2 separate regions of the Homo sapiens genome follow, and region 1 is linked to region 2. The links are contacts of gene promoters, found by promoter capture Hi-C in blood cells and fetal thymus (Javierre and others, 2016). All regions are on one chromosome and are shown on one strand. Each heading gives the region's core, a stretch centred on a gene start or on the middle of the fragment in contact. The rest is flanking DNA. Distances are from core to core; before and after follow the strand shown.

Region 1 (4,823 bases), core at 2,182-4,681, 160 kb after region 2:
GCCTGAGCCACCATGCCCAGCCTTATATATTCTTATATAAGGATTAAACATTTATAATTTGTACATTTTGTCTTTTTTGTTAAACTGCCATAAAATTAATGATGAAAATAGCCTCTAAAGTTTCAAAAGAAACTCTTATCAAAATTCTTCCTTTGACTGATGATCAATAGTTTTTTTAAAGTCTCGCATAAATTCCACCTGTGTGGAAGAAAACACAGTAAGATGTCTTCTATAGTTTGGCACAGACATTTGGAGAACCAAACGGCGTGAACAGGAAGGAGTGGCTTACCGATTTAGCCAGGATGAGCGCGTCGCTCATGAGGTCCAGCAGGGGCGTCTCTGTGTGGATGTTGTAGAATGAGTAGGCGGCTTTGAGGCTCTTGTGAGCAGGGTGGTGCATCACCGTGGAGGGGAGCGTATAGAAGCTCAGGAAATCAGTCAGTTTACCGTTGGGGCTCTAGGAGCAAAAGTGCTGTCAGACAGAGATCTCCTTGAACCAACTGCATACGTGCATTTCCACTAACTCTGTTCTCTCCCTTGCCCCAGAGAACGAAAAGCAGTAAGTCACACTTCTTTCTCGGCAGTCCAATTTGGGGCCCCTTATATTGTGCTGTGTAGAGGCCAAGAAGGGCCTGGAGTTGGGACTTCAGCCTAAGTGCCCATTGGTGATTTGCACAAAGTTCTTAGGAAGCAGAATGTCATGCCTGTAATCCCAGCACTTTGGGAGGATGAGGCGTGTGGATCATGAGGTCAGGAGTTCGAGACCAGCCTGACCAACATGGTGAAACCCCATCTCTACTAAAGATATGAAAACTTAGCCAGGTGTGGTGGCGCACACCTGTAATCCCAGCTACTTGGGAGGCTGAGGCTGGAGAATCGCTTGAACCCCAGAGGCGGAGGTTGCAGTGAGCCAAGATTGTGTCACTGCACTCCAGCCTGGGCGACAGGATGAGACTCAAAAAAAAAAAAAAAAAAAAAAAAAAGAAAGAAAGATAGAAGCAGAATGTCCTAAAAGGAAAGCTTCCCTCAGGCTGACAAATGAGTCAATTCTTTAGACTAAGGGAACAGTGATAAAAGCAGATTCATTGTTTTTGCAGAAATAAAAGCTTTAAGGATTAGAGGGCTGCCTTCTCCAACTAAAAGATACTGTGTACTATCTCACACTGTCTTAGCACACAGAAAGAATTATATCAGGCCTAAGTAAGGTTGGGTAGAGTCTGGAAGCTGTTTGGAAGAGTTCGCAAGCTTGTGAAAGGTCTTACTACTGCACCAAAATATACACATGTGAACAACTGGAGAATTTTGCAGCTATCAAAAATAAGGGATACAATGGATGACATTCATTTCATCATCACTGGCAAAGCTTCCAATACAAGAAATTAGCCAGTATTGTTCGGGTTGTTGTAATTAGCTGTGGTGGCCTTGCTGACTTTTAGAATATGATGTGTTTGAATCGTGCGGCTGAAGAGGCTGGACCACACACATGCCACTGCTAGTATTTCTTTCAGCAGAAAAGGAAATTCCAGAAGGATGTATGCTTTGGTTTTCAAAGGCTTCCGAGTCATTAGACCTTTCTTCAGCCAGCAAGAAACTAAAGGGGTTAATCTACAGTGATTCCCTACTGCTCTATATTAGCAGCTCAGTATTGGAGATGAATTCAACCTTCAGGTTTAATAAGGATTTTAGATTCTTCTAAGAATTTCTCATATCCATCTCATACGCTGAATTACTGCAGGCACCTGCAGAACCTGATTAGGTTCCCCACCCCATTTTCATCATCTGCTTTCAGAAAACTACTTCTTCACATTCATATTGCTGGTAAAATTACTGTTTCCTCTCTTGCTGTTAAAATGACCAGAGAATCACCAACTGTTGGGGAAGAGTGGGATGATCTTTCCATTGTCCCTCACACCCAATCAATTGTAAAGACTGATAAAAAACAAAACAAAACAAAACAAAACAAAAAAACCCCGCTCACAACAAAACCCACCATGGCACCATGTCTAGATGGCTTATAAGCAACTTCTAACAACTTTCAAGGAACAAGTAATCCCTATTATTACATACACTGTTCCAGAGAAAAGAGAGGACAAGCTCTTCAGCTCATTCTAACTTTGGTATCAAGACAGGACAAGGACAGGGTAAGAAGGGGAAATTAATGGCCAACCTCAGTAGTGAGTATAGAAGATCCTAAGTAAAATATTAGCAAACTAGGGCTGGGCATGGTGGCTCATGCCTGTAATCTCAGCACTTGGGGAGGCCAAAGTGGGTGGATTTTCTGAGCTCAGAAGTTCGAGACCAGCCTGGCCAACGTGGTGAAACCCCGTCTCTACTAAAATACAAAACATTAGCAGGGTGTGGTGGCATGCGCCTGTAGTTCCAGCTACACAGGAGGCTGAGCACAAGAATTGCTTGAACCCAAGAGGCGGAGGTTGCAGTGAGCAGAGATTGCACCATTGTACTCCAGCCTGGGTGACAGAGCAAGACACTGTCTCCAAAAAAAATTAAAAAAAAAAATTGGGAAACTAAATCTAAAAACAGAGGTAGTCTCACACAAATGGAAACCAAAAGAATGTGTCACTAGCAGACATACCCTGAGACTGGCTAAAGGAATTTCTTCAAATAGAAAGGAAATAATAAAAGAAGGAATCTTGAAGCATCAGGAAGGAGGGAAGAATAATAGAGTAGAAATTTGGGCTACATATAATAAATTATGCTTCTCCTCAAGCATCATTATTAATCAGTGTTACAAATCATACTTGATGATTAAAACAAAAATCATAATACTGTCTGATATTTAAGACAACAATATTTAAAAATGAAAAAGGTAAAGTGACCTAAATAAAAGTAAGGTGACTCAAAGTAATAAATGTTGTTACCAATCGACTATAAGTCACATATATATATTGTAATACTCACATCAACCATCATAAAAACTATACAAATACACCCAAAGGTACTATAAATAAAACAGTATCCTAAAATATATTCAAGTAATCCACAGCAAGGCAAGAAAAAAGAAACAGAGGAACAAGAACCAGAAGAAACATAAAGAAACCAAATAATCAAATGGTAGACTTAAGCTCTACCATACCAATAATCACCTTTTATGTAAGTGGTCTAAATACACCAATCAAAAGAAACATCAGTAGTGTGGGTAAAGAAACATGACCCAGCTATAGGCTGTTTCCAAGAAACTCACTTCAAATTCAATAACATCAATAGTTTGAAAGTAAAAGGATGGAAAAAGTCCAAACAATTTTTAAAAGCAGGTCTGGTCACAGTAATATACAATAAAGTATACTCCAGAGCAAGGAAAATTATTAGAAAGAGAGGTATTACATTATGATAAAAAGATCAATCCACTAGGGAGACACAAAGACCCTAATATACATGTGAGTATCAAACAAGAGGCCCAGAAGAAATCAAGAAAAACTGACAGTGTTGGAAGGAGAAATAGACAAATCCACAATTACAGCTGGGGACTTCCATGCCCCTCTCATCAAGTGATAGAACTGCTAGACAGAAAATCAGCATGGAAACAGAAGAGCTGAATAACTCAATTAATCAACATGATGCAATTGCCATACAAAGAACACTCCACACAACCGTAGTGGTATACACGTTTCATGCACCCATGGAATATCCATCAAGACAGTCCATATCCCGAGTAATAAAACAAACCTCAAGAGCCTTAAAATAATCAAAACCATACAGTGTGTGTTCTTTAACCATAATTGAATCAAACTAGAAATCTGTAATAGGGAGACAACAGAAAATCTCTAAACACAGCAAAATTGAACAGCACAATTCTAAGTAGGGGTGGGCTAAAGAGGAAGCCTCAAACGAAACCAAAAAATACATAGACGTGAATGACAACGAAGATACAACATACCAAAATACGTCAGAAATAGCTAAAGCAGTGCAGAGAGGGAAACTGATAGAACTAAATGCTTACTAGTAACAGGGAAAGGTCTCAAGTCAGTAAGTTCTTCCCTCAAGGAACTAGAAAAGAAGAGCAAAATAAACCCAAAGCAAGCAGACAGAAGGAAACAATAAACACGAGGGTAGAAATCAATGACACTGAAAACAGGAAGACAACAGGGAATATCCAACAAAAGTCTGGTTCTCTGGGAAACAAATCAATAAAATGATACAAGTCTACCAATATGGACAAAAACAAAGAAAGAGAAGACACGAATCACCAATATCTGGTATGAAAGAAGAGATATCAGTACAGATCCCACAGCCACTAAAAGGATAACAAGGGAATAAAATGAACATTAATTACACTCATACATTCAACAATTTAGAAGAAATGGATGAACTCCTCAAAAACTATTAAAACTCAACCAAGATGAAACAGATCATCTGAATAGTGCTATAACCATTAAAGACATTTAGTCCATTATTTAAAAACTCCCAAAAAAGAAACAGCTAAGCTCAGATCATTTCAACTGGAGAATTCTAACAAACATTTAAAGAATTAACACCAATTCTCAATTTCTTCTAGAAAATAGAAGAGGAAATAATACTTCCCAACTCCTATTATGAGACCAGTATTATCTTGATATCTAAACCAGACAGACATTACAAAAAAGGCACTCCAGAGAGATATCTCTCATGAACTCAACAAATACTCAGCAAAATATTAGCAATCAATACAACAATGTATAAAAATAATTATACACCCTGACCAAGTGGATATTTTCTAGGAATGTAAGAGTGACCCAACATTTGAAAACCAATCAATGTAATCTAACATATCAACAGATTAAAGGAGAAAAATCATATGATTACATCTATTGAAGCAGAAGCAGCAC
Region 2 (4,649 bases), core at 1,179-3,678:
CACAAGAATCACTTGAACCTGGAGGCAGAGATTGCAGTGAGCCAAGATGGCACCACTGCACTCCAGTCTAGACGACAAAAGAGACCCTGTCTCAAAAAAATAAAACTAAAAAAGCAGACAAAAATCCCTGTGGACGTGGGAGTGTACCTTCTAATGCAAGTAATTACTGTCTACCATTTATGTAGTTCCAGATGTTATCAGTGTTTTATACTCATTATTTCATCCTCACATCCTACCTGCCCATCAGATAGGTACACTTTCTGTCCTCATTTGCCAGTTGAGGATACGGAGGTTAAGTAGCTTGTCCAGGGTCATGTTGATAGTAAGTAGAGCTCAGATTTAAATCCAAGAAGGCCACCACACTTTTAGACACTGTGCTCTCTGACAACACACTGCTAGCCACCGTGCCATGCTGCCTCCACAGCATCGGAAGGGCAGTGATGAAATATACTGATTCAAAATATATCCCTTTAGCACCTACTGTGTGCTAGGCAGTGTTAGGCCAGTGTGGCTGCAGCAGAATGATCCGGGGCTACAGAGGAAGGAGGGAGGGTGTTGTGAGCAAATCTTACAGGGCTTTGCTCACCATGTATAGCCTCTGGTTTTCACTCTCCATAAGATGGGAAGCCATTGCAGGGTTGTGAGCAGAGGACTGACATAATTTGACTTAGGTTTTTTTGTTTTGTTTTCTTTGAGACGGAGTCTCCCTCTATGCCCAGGCTGGAGTGCAGTGACGCAATCTCGGCTCACTGCCACCTCCACCTCCACCTCCACCTCCTGGGTTCAAGCGATTCTCCTGCCTCAGCCTCCCGAGTAGCTGGGACTACAGGTGCACGCCACCACTCCCAGCTAGTTCTTTTGTATTTTTAGTAGAGAAAGGGTTTCACCATATTGGCCAGGCTGGTCTCGAACTCCTGACCTCGTGATCTGCCCACCTCAGCCTCCCAAAGTGCTGGGATTACAGGTGTGAGCCACCGCGCCCGGCCTTGACTTAGGTTTTAAACAGATTGCATTGACTGTTGTGTTGACAACAGACTACAGAGGGGGCATAGAGAGCTGTTGGGAACGGTTGTAATTACCAGAAAAAAGAAAAATTATGATGGCTTGAGTAGAAGCTATAAAGTCAGCAGGTTGCATTGATGGATATGGAAAGAGAGGGCTCTAGGCCACATCTACTAAAAGACATGAAGAAGGAGCAGGGTTTTTGTTTTTGTTTTGGCAGGGAGGTGTTTGGGGAGGTTGTTTTGTACAATCAAGTGGATGTTGAATATACATTGATATACAAATCTAAAGTTCAGAGAAAGACCGGGCTGAAGAGAGAAATTTGGGAGTTGTAAGTAAATAGTTTTTTGTTTTTAGTTTTACTAAGTATTGCCTTTGTTTTAGTATGACTCGTTTATTTAGAAGTTTATATAATTTAATTTGTGATATGTCTTGTGTTTTTGTTTTGTTTGGGGCAGGTGCCCGAGGCCCTTGTCATCTTCATTGACTCCAGCTCATGGCTTGTATTTAACAACGAGCTCAGAAAAATTCCTAAAAATTTAATTACTGAGTCTCCAGAGCTCTAATGAGCTGGCTCCAGCACACAATTGCTCCTTTCTTTCATTCAACAATTTGACAAGTCCTGATGGCTCTACATTCAAAACATGTAAATTGGCCGGGCGCGGTGGCTCACGCCTGTAATCCCAGCTCTTTGGGAGGCCGAGGCGGGTGGATGACGAGGTCAGGAGATCGAGATCATCCTGGCTAACACGGTGAAACCCCGTCTCTACTAAAAATACAAAAAATTAGCCAGGCGTGGTGGTGGGTGCCTGTAGTCCCAGCTACTCGGGAGGCTGAGGCAGGAGAATGGCGTGAACCCGGGAGGCGGAGCTTGCAGTGAGCCGAGATAGCACCACTGCACTCCAGCCTGGGCGACGGAGCGAGACTCCGTCTAAAAAAAAACAAAAACAAAAAAACAAAAAACCGTATATCTTGAATCTGATCACTTTTCGCTTAGATAGTACTGTAATATAGTAATAGATAATGCTAGAAAAAATAATTAAAGCTATAGATATCATCTATTGTAGGTTTACTGATTGTCAGGCACTATGGCGACTCTCTGGAATGGTTCATTCCTCGCAAATGAATAGATAGGAGATATCTACTATCAGGAACTACAAACACAGTCTCCGTGCTGTGATCCGCTTTCACAGGGAATTTTGTCTGGGATTCAAGTAGCGGCAAGTAACCCTTTTTCGCCCTCCATCTCTGCTCAGGGGTGAGCCCTGGCAGCGCTCCTACCTGGGACCTACATTGGCTTAGTAAGATGGGCCGGCGCCCACCCCAGCCCTCGCGCATGCGCATAAAAGCCCACTCCCGGGGGCGGGGCCTGAGCTAGCTGGGCGGGGCCTGAAGGAGCCGGGAGCTCCTGCAGCTTCATCGCGTTACTAAGAGACGCGAGGGTCGCGAAGGGCACAACACTTGGCCTCTCGCTGGCCCTGCTCGCGGATCCCGAGTAGAGAACGCAAGCACCCACGCCCGCCTGCAAGCTCCCGGGCGCCCCCGGCCTCTCCTGCTCGGCGGAACGAGGATAACCCAGTAGAGCCGGACCCAGGGGTGGGTGGATGCGTCGCTGGAGGCGAGGGCCCTGCCCGCCAACCCCTGCGCCCCGGCCGTAGCCCCACCCCGGAAGTTCTTGCCCCGCCTTCTCGGCTCCGCAGTTCTCTGCTGTCTCCTGAGGTTTGCCAGGGAGATCCCGTGGTTTTCATGTCTCTTCCGTGATTTTTAGGGAAGAGGGTCACTATTTGGCCCTTCCAGAATCTCAGGGTCCGGTTCTCCCGGAAGTTTCCGGGCCGCCCCGGACCCCATTGGCTTTAGGGGCCGCGTCTCCGAGGGCTCCGATTTGGGCCCTAGATTTTGGAATACTGTGTTTTGTCCGTCCCAGCCTTCACCAGGCGGATTTCATCTCCCACACAGTTAGTGATTTATGGCAGAAAGGAAGCTGGAGGGATGGGGACTGCAGGTTAGCTGTGAGGGCCGGAAGGGAGCGGTTTTGTGCTGCACACAGGCAGGTCAGCACTCCCAGAGCAGGGACCGCCGGGCGTGCTTTCGGAACCGCTTTTGTCTTTCAAATGAACGCCCAGCGACAGCAGACGGGAGTTCCAGGACCTTAGAGACCGGCTAATGCTTCTCTTTAAGTTAGGAAACAGGCGCAGGCGTGTTCATGGCCTTGCCTAAGGTTACGTGCTGGTTACAGGGCTCCTCCTGCTGCCTCTTAAGAACAGAAATAATCTAATAGGAGGAATAAAAGGGACTATTAGGGAGGCTAATGCTCTTGAAGTTTTAATACTACTAAAAGTAAAAGCGCTTTTCAGAGTGAAAGGGAAGTGAAAAGGGAATTTGGGTGGCTGGCTACATCAGAAGCTTCTGTTCCAACTTTAGATTGTCAGGGAGTTGAGATGGTGTTTTTTGTTTTTATTTTTGTTTTAGTTTTTTGAGACGGAGTCTCGCTCTGTAGCCCAGGCTGGAGTGCAGTGGCGGGATCTCGGCTCACTGCAAGCTCCGCCTCCCGGGTTCACGCCATTCTCCTGCCTCAGCCTCCCGAGTAGCTGGGACCACAGGTGCCCGCCACGATGCCCGGCTAATTTTTTGTATTTTTAGTAGAGACGGGGTTTCACTTTGTTGGCCAGGATGGTCTCGATCTCCTGACCTCGTGATCCACCCGCCTCGGTCTCCCAAAGTGCTGGGATTATAGGAGTGAGCCACCGCGCCGAGATGGTGTGTTTTTAAAATAACGTGCCCGAGGCCGGGCGTGGTGGCTCACCCCTGTAATCCCAGCACTTTGGGAGGCTGAGGCAGGCGGATCACCTGAGGTCGGGAATTCGAGACCAGCCTGACCAACATGGGAAAACCTCGTCTCTACTAAAAATACAAAAAAATTAACCAGGCATGGTGGCGCATGCCTGTAATTCCAGCTACTCGGGAGGCTGAGGCAGGAGAATCGCTTTAACCTGGGAGGCGGAGGTTGTGGTGAGACAAGATCACGCCATGGCGCTCCAGCCTGAGCAACAAGAGTGAAACTCCATCTCAAAAAAATAATAAATAAATAAATAAAATAACATGCTCCTCAATTTAACTATGGGATTATGTCCCAATACACCCATGGTAGGTCGAAAATGCATTTAATGCACCTAGCCAACTTTAAACGTCCTCAGAACACTTAGCTCCCCTGCAGTTGGGCAACATCATCTAACACAAAGCCTATTTTATAATAAAGTGTTGACTATGTCATGTAACTTACTGAATACTGAATTCAAAGTGGAAAACAGAATGGTTGCGTGGGTACTCGAATTACTGAATGCGTATTGCTTTTGCACCATGGTAAAGTGGAGATATGAGTTGAACCATTCCACGGGACCATCTGTATGCATATAAACCCTAAGTATTTCATATAATTCAGTTTCACAAACCAGAAACTCAGGCATTGCTGTTTCCTGTTTGTGGAGCTACAACTTGGTATTTTAGATGTCAAATTTATTTATTTTTTTGAGATGGTGTCTTGCTCTGTCACCCAGGCTGGAGTGCAGTGGTGCGATCTTGGCTCACCGCAACCTCCGTCTCCTGGGTTCAAGTGATTCTCCTGCCTCAGCCTCCCGAAGTAGCTGGGA

What was found. Contacts are between HindIII fragments. The CHiCAGO score rates a contact against its expected background, and 5 or more counts as called.
Region 1: a fragment that was not itself captured here is called in contact with the fragment with the promoter of MEIG1 in region 2 in 2 of 17 cell types (neutrophils and monocytes); the score reaches 6.8 in neutrophils.

What each region holds. Positions count from the first base shown.
Region 1 is chr10:15,112,507-15,117,329 of GRCh38, forward strand. It overlaps NMT2 (N-myristoyltransferase 2), which reads right to left. Exons shown (of 12, transcript NM_004808.3): 10 at 290-457. The region is part of intron 1 of LOC105376431 (a long non-coding RNA gene); the gene reads left to right. Among named protein-coding and RNA genes, the nearest start is that of RPP38, 18 kb to the left of the region's middle. The HindIII fragment of the contact is 4,141 bases long and covers 1,362-4,823 here.
Region 2 is chr10:14,956,960-14,961,608 of GRCh38, forward strand. MEIG1 (meiosis/spermiogenesis associated 1) reads left to right here and starts at 2,429. Exons shown (of 3, transcript NM_001080836.3): 1 at 2,429-2,598. RefSeq lists a silencer at 2,652-2,701. The HindIII fragment of the contact is 3,683 bases long and covers 1-3,403 here.